Linked DNA regions of Homo sapiens: all the other regions are linked to region 5. The links are contacts of gene promoters, found by promoter capture Hi-C in blood cells and fetal thymus (Javierre and others, 2016). All regions are on one chromosome and are shown on one strand. The core of a region is centred on a gene start or on the middle of the fragment in contact, and the rest is flanking DNA. Distances in the headings are between cores, read along the strand shown.

The links. The method cuts DNA at HindIII sites, captures the fragments that hold promoters and counts their contacts. A CHiCAGO score of 5 or more calls a contact.
Region 1: a contact is called between the fragment with the promoter of PARL here and the fragment with the promoter of EIF2B5 in region 5, in 5 of 17 cell types (erythroblasts, megakaryocytes, M2 macrophages and 2 more). The highest score is 7.3, in erythroblasts.
Region 2: a contact is called between a fragment that was not itself captured here and the fragment with the promoter of EIF2B5 in region 5, in 1 of 17 cell types (M2 macrophages). The highest score is 5.1, in M2 macrophages.
Region 3: the fragment with the promoter of PSMD2 here is called in contact with the fragment with the promoter of EIF2B5 in region 5 in 3 of 17 cell types (endothelial precursors, M2 macrophages and M1 macrophages); the score reaches 7.6 in endothelial precursors.
Region 4: a fragment that was not itself captured here is called in contact with the fragment with the promoter of EIF2B5 in region 5 in 1 of 17 cell types (M2 macrophages); the score reaches 6.0 in M2 macrophages.

What each region holds. Positions count from the first base shown.
Region 1 is chr3:183,882,937-183,886,329 of GRCh38, forward strand. It overlaps PARL (presenilin associated rhomboid like), which reads right to left and starts at 1,944. Exons shown (of 10, transcript NM_018622.7): 1 at 1,786-1,944. The coding sequence starts at 1,910. RefSeq lists silencers at 1,704-1,863, 1,974-2,124 and enhancers at 2,074-2,123, 2,164-2,393. The HindIII fragment of the contact is 9,960 bases long and covers 141-3,393 here.
Region 2 is chr3:183,938,445-183,941,890 of GRCh38, forward strand. All of the region lies in intron 25 of ABCC5 (ATP binding cassette subfamily C member 5), which reads right to left. Among named protein-coding and RNA genes, the nearest start is that of MIR4448, 53 kb to the left of the region's middle. The HindIII fragment of the contact is 7,094 bases long and covers 1-3,446 here.
Region 3 is chr3:184,296,845-184,300,490 of GRCh38, forward strand. It overlaps PSMD2 (proteasome 26S subunit ubiquitin receptor, non-ATPase 2), which reads left to right and starts at 2,397. Exons shown (of 21, transcript NM_002808.5): 1 at 2,397-2,557; 2 at 3,007-3,063; 3 at 3,436-3,600. The coding sequence starts at 2,423. RefSeq lists a silencer at 2,065-2,404. The HindIII fragment of the contact is 6,965 bases long and covers 1-3,646 here.
Region 4 is chr3:183,915,024-183,918,645 of GRCh38, forward strand. No RefSeq gene overlaps it. Among named protein-coding and RNA genes, the nearest start is that of MIR4448, 30 kb to the left of the region's middle. The HindIII fragment of the contact is 6,021 bases long and covers 1-3,622 here.
Region 5 is chr3:184,133,809-184,137,356 of GRCh38, forward strand. It overlaps EIF2B5 (eukaryotic translation initiation factor 2B subunit epsilon), which reads left to right and starts at 1,550. Exons shown (of 16, transcript NM_003907.3): 1 at 1,550-1,772; 2 at 2,804-2,928. The coding sequence starts at 1,578. EIF2B5-DT (EIF2B5 divergent transcript) reads right to left here and starts at 1,453. Exons shown (of 2, transcript NR_183721.1): 1 at 728-1,453; 2 at 1-470. RefSeq lists enhancers at 1-580, 1,450-1,509, 1,830-1,899 and a silencer at 1,650-1,759. The HindIII fragment of the contact is 10,653 bases long and covers 698-3,548 here.

The DNA of each region.
Region 1 (3,393 bases), core at 694-3,193, 250 kb before region 5:
TTATATATAAGGTAAACTGATACTATTAACTTTAAGAACTTATTACCAGAGGCAAATGCTCTATTTCAGGCCTACATTCTCATGTATATTTTTTATGCAACCACGAAAATGTCATTTTCAAACTTTCTATACAAATGGCAAGCTTTTCAGACATTAAATACTAATCTTCAACATTTCATGTGTTTCTGGTTCACTGTTTCAAATGGTCTTTATACTCAATTTTTACTAGAGGCTCATTAGTTTTCTTTTGCTTCCCCTTCCTAAAACCAATACGGTGATGTGTACATAAATCTTAAATGTTTAACACACTTCCTGTTGCTTCCTAATACACGTACAGTATTTATTTATTTTACATGGAGTCTCACTCTGTTGCTCAAGATGAAGTGCAATGGCACGATCTCGGCTCACTGCAACCTCCGCCTCCCAGGTTCAAGCCATTCTCCTGCCTCAGGCTCCCGAGTAGCTGGGATTACAGGCGCCCGCCACCATGCCCCGCTAATTTCTTGTATTTTTAGTAGAGACGGGGTTTTGCAATGTTGGCCAGGCTGGTCTTGAACTCCTAACTTCAGGTGATCCACCTGCCTCAGCCTCCCAAAGTGCTAGGATTACAGGCGTGTGAGCCACCACGCCCGGCCAGTATTAATCTTTTCTTTCCCCCTTAAACCATGCAATCTCAAATGGGATTACCACCTCCATCTGTCCTCATTTTCCACCTCCCCAGGAGTTTAAGATTAGTGCCTGACAGATCTATGTTAGTGTATGAAGATACAATGTATGTAAAGTTTTCACAAGTCCCTGATAAAATTCACCTGGAATGCTTGTCGGACATATAGGTTCTTCCACTCCACCCACCCCTCTCCTGATTGTGATTTGGGAGGACTGGGGTGAGGCCTGGGACATAAAATCCATACAAACTCTTCAGGTGATCCTTGAGATTAGGCAATGGCTCCGCCACATTAGAGCCTCGATTATTTACCACTGACTATCCCACGTGTTGATAAACAATGTTTCTTATCAGCAATCAGGTGGATTCGAGGCACCCATCTAACCAAGTCAGAAATTGGAAGGAATGAAGTTTTGAACAAAAGAGGAGGAAAATTTTCAAAGCCAAATGCACATCAGATTCTTAAACAGGTGAGGAATTTCTCTCTTCTCTCTCAAATTAGAAATGAATTACTGTGATGCAAAAATCAGCAATACTGATCAACCATACGCTTCACACTTCTACTCGGAAGGTTCGGCAGTTTTCTTTCCAAATCAACCGGAAACGAAATCTTCCACTGTCTCAATTCAACAATAAAGCCTCTCCTACGACTTTGCCAGACACAAAGTGATACCTTCCATCAGACTTCGTCCTCCCTTAGATCACAAGCTAAAGAAGGCGACTGGTTGTAATGGAACACAACCTTTATAATTAGATGGAAAAAGAATAAAAACCGCCATTCTGCCAGCTGTACTAACTTCTTCACTTCAGAAACTGGCTCAACAGTTTCCACTCGCGATTATGAAGTGTGGCACGCAATGAACCCTCAGCTTAGTTCCCCTTCCAGTCACGTCCTTCCCAATGGGAAAGGAGAAAGCGCAGGCTCGCGGGGGGCTGGGCTGGGCAAGGGGAGCGAGAAGCGAGGACTGGACGGAGGCGAGAGAGGAGAGAGAAGGGGCAGGTAAGGTGAAGGGGGTGAGCTGGGGCCAGCACAAGAGGCCCAGACGGCCTCCGCCCCCGAGGATACACGGCCAGAGCTCAGGGACCAAGAGGCGAGAAGACCAGAGCGCGGCGGCTATTACCTGCGTCCGAGGAGCTGCGGCGGGGTTAGGACCGCAGTGAGCTCCTCGCAGCTGCGGCCGCCCACCGACGCACCCCACGCCTGGCCGCAGCCCCAGCCTCTCTGCGCCCAGCCTCGCCACGCCATCTTCCCAACCTCTGCCCCACCATGGCCCGACCTTACCAACCCCAGCTGCGCAACTACTTCCGGGGCGAAGGCAACACCATAGAGCACGAGGAGCAGTCTAGAGCGCCCCCGCGCGGCTGAGCGGCAGCCGAACCAGCCACGGTGCCCGGACGACTGGCTGGCGCCCTTCTGTCCCACCGCTTCCCCTCCCACTGCTCAGCTGGCTCCGGGAGCGACCTGCGAGAGTGGCCCGGCCTCCCGGCATTTGCAGATGAGGAGGATGGGGCCAGAGCGAAGAGGGACAACTGTCATTTTTTCGAGTAACGGCACATACCAGGCGCTTTGCCTAAGATCGCATTTAATCGTCACAGCACTGCTAGAGGTAGATGTCATCACTGTTTCACTTTGCCTCTGGTCAGAGGGGATAGGACTTGCCCGGAGTTGCAGGGCTGGTCCCTAGAGGAACCAACGTGGCAAGCCAAGTTTTCTTAAATTACTACTTTTTTCTGCATCTCACCACTTCGTGTTATTCTGTATGCCTTTAACAAAGTCCAAGCCTATCGGGCGGGGTGGCTCACCCCTTTAATCCCAGCACTTTGGGAGGCCGAGGCCGGCGGATCACCTGAGGTCAGGAGTTCGATACCAGCCCGGCCAACATGGTGAAACCCCGTCTCTACTAAAAATACAAAAATTAGCCGGGCATGGTGGCAGGGGCCTGTAATCCCAGCTACTCAGTTGGCTGAGGCAGGAGTATTGCTTGAACCTGGGAGGCGGAGGTTGCAGTGAGCCGAGATTGGACCACTGCACTCCAGCCTAGGTGACAGAGCGAGATCCGTCTCAAAAAAATTACAAATACAAATACAAAAATTAGCTGGGCGTGGTGGCGCAAACCTGTAATCCCAGCTACTCGAGAGGCTGAGGTGGGAGAATCACTTGAACTCGGGAGGTTGCAGTGAGCCGATATCGTGCCAGCCTGGGCAACAGAGTGAGACCCTTTCTCATAAATAAATAAGTAAATAAACACAAAATCCAAGCCTGAAATGAAAAGCGGGCTTTCACTTTTTCATAATCCATCCCTCAACTACCTGTCAGTTAGCTTGATTCCCTGCCATTCCATTCCCCCCGACCCTAGCTGCAGCCATACAGTCATTGGCCATTACTCAAAGGCACCATCCGCGTTCCCACTGCTGAGCATTCATGCTACCGTTCTCACCACTTGAAACATCTAACCGACTTGTCCTTCAGGTCAGCCTCAAGTGTCACCTCTTCCAGGAGGCCTTTCCCAGACCTCCACTCCAATTTAGATTCCCTTCCTTTGTACTCACATACCGCTTTATGCTTATCTCTGCAATAGCACTTCATTCATTCCATAAGCTCTTATTAAGCACCTACAGTGTGTCAGGTGATATGTTAAACCTGGGGATACAATTGAGAAGACACTATATCTGACCTCACAAAGATTCTATTGTATTGGGGGAGAAGGCTCTGTAGGAGTCTAGAGAGG
Region 2 (3,446 bases), core at 751-3,250, 190 kb before region 5:
CGCGTCACCATGCCCAGATAATTTTTGTATTTTTAGTAGAGATGGGGTTTCACCATATTGGCCAGGTTGGTCTCAAACTCCTGATCTCGTGATCCGCCCACCTTGGCCTCCCAAAATGCTGGGATTACAGGCGTGAGCCACCGCGCCTGGCTGACCATTCCATTTTCATGAGAGTAAAATGGAAAAATGCCTCCTGGTCACCTTAGGAACAGGTGCACAGAGCTGAATGCTTCTTAGGCAAAGTTAGGAGAACAGAGATCTTACAGCAAGCAGTTGAGGGGCAAACCAGAGGACAAGATGTCTTTTTTCTCCCTACCCCCTTATTAGGGCTGAGAGAGAGACTAAGACAAGGCCTCCTGTTGCCACAGCAGCAGCTGGGGAATTGAAGAAGTTCCAGGGATAAATAAACACATACGGGAAGGAGGTTTTGCCTCGACTCAATGAGTAGCTGTCAATGGCCCTACTGTGATAGGAAACTATGGCAGAGAAGCAGGTTTGGGGGATCAGTGTTATTACAGTAATCAGCAGAACAGGTTAACCAAATCTTCATTTGAAAAGTTTACATAAGTAATACGAGATGACATCATCAATCTCCCATAATCTCACTTCTATCATTTTAGGCACACTTCCTTTCGGTCTTTCCTCAGAGTTGAGATCATATCAGAAATGCAATATTGTAATTGCTTTTTTCACTTAACACTGCATTGGCCGGGCACGGTGGCTCATGCCTGTAATCCCAGCACTTTGGGAGGCTGAGGCGGGCAGATCACCTGAGGTCAGGAGTTCGAGACCAACCTGGCCAACATGGTGAAACCCTGTCTCTACTATAAATACAAAAATTAGCTGGGCAAGATGGCGAGTGCCTGTAATCCCAGGTACTTGGGAAGCTAAGGCAGGAGAATCACTTGAACCTGGGAGGCGGAGGTTGCAGTGAGCCAAGATCGTATCATTGCACTCCAGCCTGGGCGACAGAACGAGACTCTGTTTCAAACAAAACAAAACAAAAGCATTGTATAACACTCAGTCAACCATCTTTTAAAAAAATTTTCAAGATAAAATTTTAGTGGTTGCATTCCATCATGTGCATGTATTCTTGTTCAGCCAGCCCTCTAAGGGTCAACATTTAGTTTATGTAAAACTTATAATAATGTTATGTCCTATTATCTTAGTGCTGAAACTTTACTGCCACCTCAGACAATTTCCTTGGGAAAGAATCTTAGAACTGAAATTACTGTGTCAAAGGATATAAACATTTAAAAGGTGCTCTCTCTACAGAGCCAAAAAGAAAAGAAGTTTGCCATAGTCCTGTCTACCTTTCTGCAACTTGGTTCCATGGTTTAGATTTAGAACTACAGGGTTTTAGCTGTTGAATCACTTTTCCTTGGCTGTACGCCTGGTTCTTGACCCTCCTACCTTTCTCGTGCCACCATGTCATGAAAGACCTCTTGTGAGGGCCTCATCGAGATCACCACGATGCTGTCTCTTCAGCACTCATGGAGGGCGCAAACAGCCTGCCTTGCCCCAGTGTCTACAGCCACGACCCCACTGTCGGGATCTACCCCCTGGGCATACCTCTGTCTAACAGCCTAATGGGAACCTGAAAAACACCCATAAGACTTGGAAGAAGTAACGCCCAGGAAACTTGGAAAAAGCTGTATTAGGACCCATCTTCCTAATGCAACAATCCTCACATCCTTCTACCAGAAACGAGTTAGGAAACCTGGTCCGTCTAGCAGGATAGTTCTCCTCCTAGAAATGAGTGACTCCAGGCCGGTGGGCGCAGCGGTTCACACCTGTAATCCCAGCACTTTGGGAGGCCAAGGTGGGTGGATTACTTGAGGCCAGGAGTTTGAGACCAGCCTGGCAAACATGGCAAAACCCTGTCTCTACTAAAAAATACAAAAAAAAAAAAAAATTAGCTGGGCATGGTGGCATGTGCCTGTAATCCCAGCTACTCCAGAGCCGAGATTGCACCACTGCACTCTAGCCTGGGCAACAGACTGAGACTCTGTCTCAGGAAAAAAAAAAAAAAAAAAAAAAAAAATGAATGACTCTGTTCAGGGTTGGGGGACTCAGTTACTGGCCCCTTTCCCAGATAGGAGGGGAGGAGACATTCCCTCTGGGCCGAGGCAGGGCTTTAAGATCTAAGCTAAGGAAGGAATGGTGCCCGAAACAATGGGTCAAGTTGTTCCAGTTTAACAAAAGGTGCCTAGGTTTGGACCACCTGGACTGGAAGACTTTAGAGTCCTCTGAATCTGACTACCTTTGCACTGATGGAATGTGCTGGTAAGAAAGGCAGTGAAGTCCTCAAGATGGTGTCCTTGACTGACATGACCACAGGAGAGTTTCCAAGTTACCCGTGAAACTTGGAAGAAGCCCTATTAGAACCGGAGTGTAAATCAGGTTATTATTATTATTATTATTATTATTTGAGATGGAGTTTCGCTCTTGTTGCTCAGGCTGGAGGGCAATAGCGCAATCTCAGCTCACTGCAACCTCCGCCTCCTGGGTTCAAGAGATTCTCCTGCTTCAGCCTCCCGAGTAGCTGGAATTACAGGCATCCACCACCACGCCCAGCTAACTTTCTGTATTTTTAGTAGAGATGAGGTTTCACCATGTTGGCCAGGCTGGTCTTGAACTCCTGACGTCAGGTGATCCACCAGCCTGGGCCTCCCAGAGTGCTGGGATTACAGGCGTGAGCCACTGCACCTGGCCACTATGTTCTTTTTCTTGTTTCTCTTCTGTCACTAACTACTGTTTAATGAAGTTGTGGTGCTTGTTTTGGCCTATCTCACCTGTGTTAAAGGGAAATCATAACAAAGGACATCAGTCAGCTTTCAGGGGAGCAGTGTACCCCTGGGGACGAATGCAGCAGATGGGCTCAAGGGAGAGAACAGTAAAAAGGCTTGGGGAGAGTCACCCTGCTTGGCTAAAGATTCCCTTCCAGCATGAAAGACCTGGAGCAATGTCTTGTTTTGACGTGAAGTAATTCCCTCAAACAGAAAGCAGGAAATGGCTTTTTCCTTTTCTTCCTTAGAAAGTTCTTTAAAATCAATTGGCCAGAAAAGACAAAAGGTTTTTTTTTTTTTAATGGCAAGGAAAAAAGCTAGAAGAGTTTTGATGCCAAAGAAGCATGGAGCCTAGAAAACTAATGAAAACTGAATCAAAGATACCTCTTATACAAGGATAAAAAGGACAGTAAAAGAAGACAAGTTCAGTCTTTGGAATGCAATTCAGGAACGAAAGTGAGAAAAAAGGGGCCGGGTGCGATGGCTCACACCTGTAATCCCAGCACTTTCAGAGGCTGAGGCGGGTGGATCATGAGGTCAGGAAATCGAGACCGTCCTGGCCAACATGGTGAAACCCTGTCTCTACTAAAAATACAAAAAAATTAGCTGGCGCCCCTGTAGTCCCAGCTACGTGAGAGGCTGAGGCAGGAGAATCGC
Region 3 (3,646 bases), core at 1,147-3,646, 160 kb after region 5:
AGTTCCAGGCCGGGCGCAGTGGCTCATGCCTGTAATTCCAGCACTTTGGGAGGCCAAGGCAGGCAGATAACTTGAGGTCAGGAGTTCAAGACCAGCCTGGCCAACATGGTGAATCCCCGTCTCGACTAAAAATACAAACATTAGCGGGGTGTGGTGGTGCATGCCTGTAGTCCCAGTTACTTGGGAGGCTGAAGCAGGAAAATCACCTGAACCCGGGAGGCAGAGGTTGCAGCAAGCTGAGATCATGCCACTGCACTCCAGCCTGGACGACAGAGCGAGACTCCGTCTGGAAAAAAAAAAAAAAAAGAAGAAGGAAGTCATGGATAAAGAGGAGTTTTAGAAAAAAATCCCTCTACAGATGACTGAAGAAAGCATGAAAATGTATGGACACCGTGAAGCCAGAGATAGAATAGGCAGAACAGTTATGGACTGTTGAATTTTTGTCTGCAGACCAGCGCTGGGGGAGTCATTGGCAATGGCAATGGAAGGTCATGCCTAGAATCCAAGCACTGAGTGGAAAAGAGCAACAGGTATTTAAAATGGATTCAGACCTTTACTTCCGTATCTACACAAACATTTACCCAACATTCACTCTGTGATATGTTGTACTAGGTGTCTTTTTCTTCAATGTGTCAGAACCCATAAAATAAGATTGCTAGAAGACTCCTGAGTGTTCCCACTAGGTGAAAGGGAGAAGAGATACTTCCTTTTTTCTCACCTTACACGCACACACACACACACACAGCTGAAGAAGAAACTCTGGGGTTTGCCTAAAACAGTCAAGGGCTTTGAAGACTGAAAGACTGAGCTTTAAATTTTGATTCCGCCGGGCGCGGTGGCTCACGCTTGTAATCCCAGAACTTTGGGAGGCCGAGGCGGGCGGATCACCTGAGGTCGGGAGTTGGAGACCAGCCTGACCAACATGGAGAAACCCCGTCTCTACTAAAAATACAAAAATTAGCCGGGCGTGGTGGCACAAAAATTCAACAGTCCATAACTGTTCTGCCTATTCTATCTCTGGCTTCACGGTGTCCATACATTTTCATGCTTTCTTCAGTCATCTGTAGAGGGATTTTTTTCTAAAACTCCTCTTTATCCAGCTACTCGGGAGGCTGAGGCAGGAGAATCACTTGCACCCGGGAGGCGAAGGTTGTGGTGAGCCGAGATTGCGCCATTGCACTCCAGCCTGGGCAACAGGAGAGAAACACTATCTCAAAACAAATAAATAAAATAAAAAATAAATCCTCATTTTACTACTTGATATGATCTTCTCTGTAAAATGGACCTAACCCTACCAATCTCAAAAGATTGTAAGAAGTGCATGGAATCACTCGAAAGCAGTCCTGACATAAGCGCGTCAGTCACACGCCTCTAAGGCTTCACAGGGAAAGACGAGAAGATAGAGGACGAAGACCTTGTCTTGTTCTGCTTTTAGCTCCAGAACTTGGCGGGGAGCACAGGGCTTTATTGATCGATGTCAACTCCACCTGGCTCCCCAAAGTATTTAAAATGGTAGCCACGGGAATAGCAGAGTACTCTCTTTCAACTGGGGAGGAATATCAAATGAGGTTAATAGGCCGGGCGCGGTGGTTCACACCTGTAATTACAGCTCTTTGGGAGGCTGAGGCGGGCAGATCACTTGAGGTCAGGAGTTCGAGACCAGCCTGGCCAACATAGTGAAACCCCCGTCTCTACTAAAAAATACAAAAATTAGCTGGGCGTGGTGGCGGGCGCCTGTAATCCCAGCTACTCGGGAGGTTGAGGCACGAGAATCACTTGAACCTGGTAGGCGGAGTTTGCAGTGAGCCGAGATCGCGCCACTGCACTCCAGCCTGGGCGAGAGAGCGAGCCTCCTTCTCAAAAGCAACAACAACAACAAAACCAAATGAGGTTAATATTCCACAGTGGTGTGGGGCTAGACACAGTTACACAGACTTTATACAGGCGGCAATCAAGCGTCCTGGACGTCAAGAAATCTAGTTTGTCTGTCGCGCCACGCAGTCAACTGGAGTGTCACTGTGGGTTCTATTTACACCGTTATGAGAAAAACCTGTGGCGGAGTAAAACTCGGTAACTCCGCTCGCAGACCGCCCATCTACAGCAGTGAGCGAACCCAAACCCCACACGGCCAAGTCCCGCGGGTTTCAGGAAACTCCGAAGAGGTCGGGGGCCAGGGGCGACTATGGCGCGGGGGAGGCTGGGAATTGTAGTCTCCACCTGCCTCCGAGGGCGGGGTCCGAGGGCGGGGCTCTCAGGCCGAGGGGGTGGGTGGGTCGCCGAGCGCCCCGGCTCGCCCCGGCGTTTCCGGTCGCAGGCGGGCTCTGGAGGAGGAGGGGCGCCGCGACCGACGCGCGCGAGTTGGTCTGGGAAAAAGGGCGGTGCGAGCGGGTGCGCGCGCAGCGGGCCGGCAGTGGCGGCGGAGATGGAGGAGGGAGGCCGGGACAAGGCGCCGGTGCAGCCCCAGCAGTCTCCAGCGGCGGCCCCCGGCGGCACGGACGAGAAGCCGAGCGGCAAGGAGCGGCGGGATGCCGGGGACAAGGACAAAGAACAGGAGCTGGTGAGGCGCGACCCCGAGAGTCGGCGAAGGAGGCTGCGGGGCTGAGTCACGGCGGCTCCGCAGGCCTCAGGCCCGACACCCAACTACCCCACCGCGCCAGGGAGAGGGCGGTTGGGGCGACCCTCGGGACTCCCGGCACCTTGCCTCTCTGCTCCTCATTCTCCGTTCCGCGCTGTCACCTCCGCCGTCCCCACCAACCCTCACCACCGCCGCGTGAAGTGGACTCGGGCAGGTCATTGTCACCTCCGTTTCCTAGAGTGGCATTCAAGTAGAGCCTGATTCAGAACCCAGGCTGATTTCTCACCAGGGCTTCCCATTCCCACTCGGTTTCCTTGTCCACCTGGCCCCTCCTAAGGAGGCAGGCTTATTCTTCACCTGCCCCGGGTAAGTGGGAGGAGGACGTCTTTGGGATTCCTTCTCTTCATGAGCTGCTTCTCCCAACCCTCCAGTCTGAAGAGGATAAACAGCTTCAAGATGAACTGGAGATGCTCGTGGAACGACTAGGGGTGAGTCACGATGTTAACATGATTCGGTGCATGTTTGGATCTTTCCCACTTGTTTTATTCTTTTTTGAGGCAACTGCTATGTACGGTGGACTGTATTTTAGGGTCAGTGTTATGATGATGTTGGGAGGCAGGAGAGTTACAAAGGGTATTTGTACAGTTTTGCAGCTTTCTCTTGTGGGAGAAGCAGAGTTCTTACCTCTTAACTTGGGTCATTTGTTTTTGTGCCAGGCAGGGTGCAGGGAGTTGAGGAATCACAGATGAATGAATAAGACACAGCATTTCCTTGGAGGAGTTGTTAAGTTAAATATCTCTGTATTATGACTTGAAGGGGTGTGACTCCTTTTTGTCTGAGCCCTGTCGTCTCTTGATCAGGAGAAGGATACATCCCTGTATCGACCAGCGCTGGAGGAATTGCGAAGGCAGATTCGTTCTTCTACAACTTCCATGACTTCAGTGCCCAAGCCTCTCAAATTTCTGCGTCCACACTATGGCAAACTGAAGGAAATCTATGAGAACATGGCCCCTGGGGAGAATAAGGTAAAACTGTTTCAAACCTGGTGGAGGCCTAGTTTAGGAATTCCTT
Region 4 (3,622 bases), core at 10-2,509, 220 kb before region 5:
ACACCCCCACTCCAGCAAGGTAGGCCCACCCCCTACTTCTCCCTGACTAGGAAAGGGAGGAGATAAAAATAAGGAGCTACAGAGACCACTAGAGGTGGAAGGAATGAGAACTAGGCAGAAGAGACCCCCCTCCAGTTACCTCCATGCACCTGAACACAGAAGGAGAATTCCATTCCTTGCGGTTGTGTTTAACTTGTCCAATGTGTCCCAGTGCCCATGGGAGTGAATGGGAACAAATACAGGGGGCTTGCCTGCCTCTAGACATTATGTGAAGGCCCCAAAGGACAGGAGCTATTTCTGGGGAGGGCTGGGAGACCCAGGATCCTCTAACTGAAGGAGGGGCAGACTCAGGGACCACATCCAGGCAAGCCAGGGCACGGGCCAGCGCTAGAGGACATAGCCCTGCTTTGCATATTTTATTATCAATAGTTCCTTCTTTCACTCTTGGTGTGACTCTATGACCAGTGGTTCTGCACATCCCCAGGTTTCGTAGATGAAGAAAGGATGACGTGCTGCCTGACAGCTTGCAATGAACTCAGCATCTAGAATTTTGCAGAGTGTTCCAGTGGAGTTCCCACGGGGAGCTGCTTTCCTTCAAGCCCAGCTTTGAGTAAGGGGAGCGGGGCAGTGGGACTCGCCACTGCCATGCTGTGCTCCAGCCAGGATGATCTCAGGGCACAGGGAGAGGCTTCGTGTCCGAAGAGTGTGGCAAAGGGCAGCCAACATCCTCCCCCTCCCTGCCCCCAACACACACACCCACAATCGCACCCCATCAAGGGCAGTAGAATTAGCCATCCAACCAGAATGATGTCTTTATTGTTCCCAGGATATTCATCTTATCCGAGAATGATTCATGGCAGCTATTATTTAAAATATTAAAAATATTCAAGGCTGGGCACAGTGACTCATGCCTGTAATCCCAGCACTTTGGGAGGCCGAGGCAGGTGGATCACCTGAGGTCAGGAGTTCGAGACCAGCCTGGCCGACATGGCAAAATCCCATCTCTACTGAAAATAAAGAAATTAGCCAGGCGTGGTGGCACGGGCCTGTAATCCCAGCTACATGGGAGGCTGAGGCAGAATTGCTTGAACTCGGGAGGTGGAGGTTGCAGTGAGCTAAAATCGTGCCACTGCACTCCAGCCTGGGAGACAGAGCGAGACTCCATTTCAATAAATGAATAAATAAATAATATTCAAGACGGTCAAAAGGAAAGATCAAAATATTATGAAGGATGAGGGAAACAAGCTGAGATAAACATACAGGGCCCTGAGCTTCCTGTCGGCTAAAATAAGAAGGAGGAAACAATGTGTTCCAGAATCCTCACTGAGAAGCAGAGAATTTTCCCGAGATCAGATTCTGAAAGGGATTTCTTGTGTGGACACAACTGCCAACAGAGATTTTTTTTTTTTTTTTTTTTTTTTTTTTTGAGACAGAGTTTCACTCTTGTTGCCCAGGCTGGAGTGCAGTGGCACAATCAACTCACTGCAACCTCTATTTTCCGGTTTCAAGTGGTTCTCCTGCCTCAGCCTCCCAAGTAGCTGGGATTACAGGTGCCTGCCCCCACGCCTGGCTAATTTTTGTATTTTGTATTTTCAGTAGAGACAGGGTTTCACCATGTTGGCCAGGCTGGTCTCGAACTCCTGACCTCATGATCTGCCCACCTTGGCTTCCCAAAGTGCTGGGTTACAGGTGTGAGCCACCACGCCTGGCCTGCCAACAGAGATTTTATGGAAGATGAAGTAGCAGGTTTCTTCATGTGCCCATTTCCGAGAGTGACTCCAGGACTCGCCAAGGGTATTGAAACTGAAGGAGTGGTAGTCTTTCTCCAAGTACAACACGGCTCGGCTGGGGATTGAAGGGTAGAACCTGATCATACGTAGGCATGGCGGGATGGCATGTATGTTCCCAAGGTGTCACTTCTCTTAGCCAAACATTGTTTTGCTTATTATCTAAGTATGAATGCCAGCGATTATATCAAATGGTAGGTGGCTGGGATCCAGCCCCTGTATTTTGATCAGCTGTCAGGATCCCAGAGAAAATATACACAGAGGCTGCTCTAGCAAAACCTTTCTGTTGACGACTTCACGCCTTTGGCACTGAGAGGCAGCGTGGTGGGCTAGTCCGGAGAGTCTGGTGCCTGAAGACTCCTGTGGCTGGAGGAGTTGCCCAGGGCCCAGAAACTAGCAGCCCCAGGCCCACATCCTTATTACAATGGACCTTTAGATCTTACCACATCCTAGGAAAGGAAGGGAGATCGGAGATAGGGAATACCAAGGACAAGAGAGAAAGGGTGTCTCTGAATAACCCAGGGCAGGACTGGCCAGGTGCCATCCCTGGACTCCTAGGTCATGACCGAGAAACTCAGAGGAGGAGAAAGGGTGAGAAAAAGTGAGCAAGTTACTTAAAGTTTCTCTTCTCCTTTGGACTATAATCTCCCTGTGTCTTGTTTCTGGTCTCCTGTGCCCAGCAGAAGGTATGGGACCTAGTGACTGTTCAATAAATAGTTTTTGGGAAAAGAGCCCGAGGGGGCTGGAGTCCAGGTATTGGGAGGCTGAGGGAAGAGGCAGTTGGATCAGTAAGTCTGGAAGAAGTGGGGAGCTAAAGTTCCCGGAGGGCAGGCCACTCTCAGAGGCCCATGGGAATGACATCAGATGGAGACTCCCAGAGTGGGCCTCACGGCACCTTTTTTCTCACCAGTGGTCAGAATGGCCCCAGGACTGCAGCCCACCAGATTCTTTGTCAAGGACACAAAAAATGAGTCAGAGAAGTCTCCCCCAGCCCCTAGCCCCGTGAACCAACCATTCCAGGCAACGTCAGTATCTCTGCCCCAACAGGTGTGTGCCCACGGTCCTAACTGCCTGGTGCTGGCCTGTCCTAGCTGGGTATGGAGCTCCCCTTTGAGAACAGGGCTGTGCCAGGTCTGCGGGAGACCAAGTACTAGCTCTGATGGTTCTCACTTGGACAGCAGCCAGCTTAGTCCTCCTAAGCTGAGTCCACCTGAGCAGGTAGAAGGGAGTTTGCCTGAGCCAAGGAAGAATGCTGAATTCAGGCCACAGGCAGAAAGAAACAGGACACAGAAAAGATTCCAGGAAAAGAGGAAATCTGCTCCCAGTACACACCACCTCCCTAGTGGAAGCAAAGAGGAAGAGGCAGAGTTCTAGAGCCATGTCCCAAATGAGGTGAGCAGGATCCAGGTTTTTCAGGTCCTAGTTATGGACTCACACTAGTCATGGAGTTAGAGCTGGAAGAAATCTTAGAGGCAATCTGATCTAGCACATGCATTTGATGAAATTGAATTTGCTGATGAAATTGAAGCTCAGGTCATGAGATGAGGAACAGCTTGAACTCTGGGAGCAGGCTGTTTGGGTTTGAATTCTGTGTGATTCACTTCATACTGGATATTGGCTTGAGACAAGTTAAATCTTCACGAGCCTTTCCTCATCAGCAAAATGTGCTTAATTTTAGCTACCTTGTAAAGTGGTTGAGAAAATCACGTAAGGCCATGCTAGAAGTACCTAGTACAGTGCTTAGCTTACAGGTGCCCCTGAGTTCTAGCCAAGAAAACGAGCACAGAAGCGATGTCTAATGTTTTCAGGCCTGTTTCATAACACTTTCTGCTCAA
Region 5 (3,548 bases), core at 300-2,799:
CCACTTCCCAACTTCCCAAGGTTGCGGGAATCATTTAAAATAAATTCTGCAATCGGACCTACTTTCCATACCCAAACACCCCCCCAAGAGTGTGTGTGTGTGTGTGTTTGTGTGTGTGTGTGTGTGTCCTATTTAATTCCTTCTCCCCTCCCCCATTTCTACCTCTGGATTTGTAGGGCAGTTGAACATTCCTTTTCTACAACGTGCATTCATTTAATGGAAAACTTTTACTTAGTTGGCTTCAGCCTTTCCTTTTCTAGGATAAATCAAATGGTTTTCGTTCCGCACCCTAACGAGGCAAGAAATGACAAACTCCTCGGTCCCCCTAGGCGGGCGCCGGAGCACGACGGGTCAAGTCGGAATCGCCACGTGGAAACAGCTCTCAGCATCGCGAACTCCAAATCCCGACGTGCAACGCGGGGCGGGATGGGAACAGTTTGCAGGAACTGCAGAAGCCTGTGGCGTGGAACCTGGACAGGTCCCGTGCAGAAAGGGCGCTATGCCTTACAGAAAAGTTCCTTGCCTCCCAAATGACGCCCAGCCTTCCTGCCCCGTTCCACCGCTTTCCCACGGCCCCGCCCCTCTACAGAGTTGGTTTATTCCCCGCAGCCACCGCTTCTTTCCCCAAAGAGAAAAAGGTGCTGCTGCGCCTTTTCAAGCCTTGGACCTTTACGCCCGCACTTTCCTCTGCCCAGAAAGCTTACTGCTTAACTCCAGTACAACTTACTGGTGCGCCTGGATCCACCCCCGTCTCCACTCTGCTTAAGACACAGGAGGCTGATAGGCTGGAAGAATGAATAGATGACATAAAATAGTCATTGTTATCCCCACATAACTTGGCAGCAAGATTGTGGAACTCTGCAGTCAGACAGATCGGGTTCCAATACCAGTTCTTCCACTTACTAGCTGGGTAAACTTCCTTCATCCTTCTGAGAGTTCAAGAAACGTTTGCTGAACGAATGAATAAGATGTTTTGCAGAGATAATGCTTGTATCGTGCCTGGCCCAAAATCAGCGCTCAATGGAATTACTGGTCTCCCTACTATATGCCTGCCACCTTCTCTATTTATGCAGGTTCTGAGTTCCTCGCAGCGGGGGAACATCTGGCTCGGTTCTATCTCCCCAAGGCGCTGGGTTCCCAGAAGTTTCTAGAATGAATACGGAGGGCTACATATTTCACATGCGCGGGGCGGGGAAACTGCTGGGCGATTACAGATTCCCGATGGAGCTGGCCCCTTCGTGGCGACCACAAGTCCTATCACGCCACAAGAATCTCGGCTTGTTCACCTACAAATGAAGGCCGACGATACTTGCAGACCGAGTCTGACATCTATGGGACCCCACTCCTACCCTGCGCCTCAGGGGCCGGGACAACCGTGACCCGTACCGACTCCTCGCGCCTCCGGGATCAACCTCAGACCCCTGTGGGCTCCCGGGGAAGACGCATGCGCACTGCTCCCTCCTCGTCTCCTTCCCTTCGTTAATTAGTCCATCGCATTTCAAGTGCTGGATCCTTTTTGTCCCCTACTGCGTGCGGTGGCAGCTTCCTTGCGGAAGTGGTGACCGTGAGAGAAGAAGATGGCGGCCCCTGTAGTGGCGCCGCCTGGTGTGGTGGTTAGTCGGGCTAACAAGCGCAGCGGCGCGGGGCCGGGAGGCAGCGGTGGCGGGGGAGCCAGAGGGGCGGAGGAGGAACCGCCGCCGCCCCTACAAGCAGTTCTGGTGGCCGATAGCTTCGATCGCCGCTTCTTCCCCATCTCCAAGGACCAGCCTCGGGTGAGCGCCGCGCACGCGAGCAGCCAGAGGGCAGGAAGGGTGGCAGGGCTGGAGCAAGTTCTCATTTCGGCTAACTACAACAGCATGCCCTTGAAGGACCTGCGTCTATGCTGTTATCCTAAAACCGGATGCAGAGGGACTGTCTAAACCCTGATGACTGCTGACCAAGTTAGTGGCCGGCAGATTTGGGCATTCGTAATGCTGTCCACCTCGGGTTTGAAAGGAATGAAGAGAGCTAAATGTAGAAACAGCGCTTGAGAGAAGCCTTCACGCGGGGATTCAGTGCCCCTAGAAGAGGCTGCGCCGCTTTTAACCTTGCCGATGACGGTTGCTTAGGTGAAAAGAAACGACCTTTTGCCTCTGAAAGGGCGGTAATATGCCTTAAAAAGAGCGGGCTAGATCTCAGGCAGTGTATTTTTTTTTTCCTTCCAGGTTCTAATGATAGCCGGTGCTATCTGTCGAAAGGACAAAATGGGTTTAGTGGTTGATTGCCATCAGCCCCCGAGTTGTCTAGACAATGGGGTATTGGACTCAGCTGGGTCGTTCAGCAGTCAGTTCAGAAAGAGGGAACTGCATTGGATTTAAGGAAAATCCTCTCTAATTCCCTCGAAAAAGCCTAATGGCTGTTCATTTTTGACAAGTGACGGGAGATGGCTAACCTCTGACACTTAGAAAGGGATCAAGGAAGGAAATCTTATGGGGAAGAAGGCCTTAGCAATGCTTAAATTTATGGAAATATGATTGATTTCCAGTATTATCCTTTGCCAGCAGTGAACTGCCATTCTGTCACAGCTCTGTGTCTGATACAAGGCACATAGATTCTGTACTTACCATCCCCAAATTGCAATGTCTCAGACTCAGGCTTAGAGCATGGCATGAACATCAAAGGCAGGAACCTGTTTATCTTTGAATTGGAAAGATACAGCAAAATTACACTGTTTGGAAATACGAATAGAGGAGTGAAAATTGTTGCAGTGGGGTACCCAAAGGGATTCGAGACCTCAAGTTTTTTTTCATCTTGTATCCTTCAGGTCCTCTTGCCCCTGGCCAATGTGGCATTAATTGACTACACTCTGGAATTCCTGACTGCCACAGGTGTACAGGAAACATTTGTCTTTTGTTGCTGGAAAGCTGCTCAAATCAAAGAACATTTACTGTAAGGCCCTGCAACTTTTCTTTCCATGTTTCGCCATCTTTTTCCAGTTTTTTCAGGATGAATGTAACTAAGGGGAAATGTGAGAGGGGAAAAATGTGTCTACTTAGATGTCATTGTAAGTTCTAAGGGTATTTTCTACACTTATCAGGAGGTGAGCAGCTGAAACTTTGTATCTGTCTGTCTTGGGTTTTCTGTGACAAAGATTAAAGAATAAACTTGGGTTTTTTCTGAATCTCATTATAAAGTTTGGTGCCAGTGGACTTTGCTTTTATTTAATGGCTTCAGTATGGAAGTTACAATGATAACATCTTTGTTTTCCCACTGAGTTTCTAAATCTTGTTTGTTCTCACCTTCAAGGATATAAATGAGCTCCTTGTCATCTTTGTATTCCCACTGCCTAGCTCAGTCCCAAGCATATAGTGAGCACTTACATGTTTGTTGAAATCTTGAAAACTAGGGAATCGCATTGCTTATGGAAGTCCAGGATGTAAAGACTAGGACATTAGCATGGTCTCCATCAGACAGTTCCTAAATGTTATATGGATTGCAGAAGGGGAAAGCTGACGTGAAGCGTGTTCCCAGGCTACTTTGTGTACCCTAGGCTTCAGCAGGATTTTGAG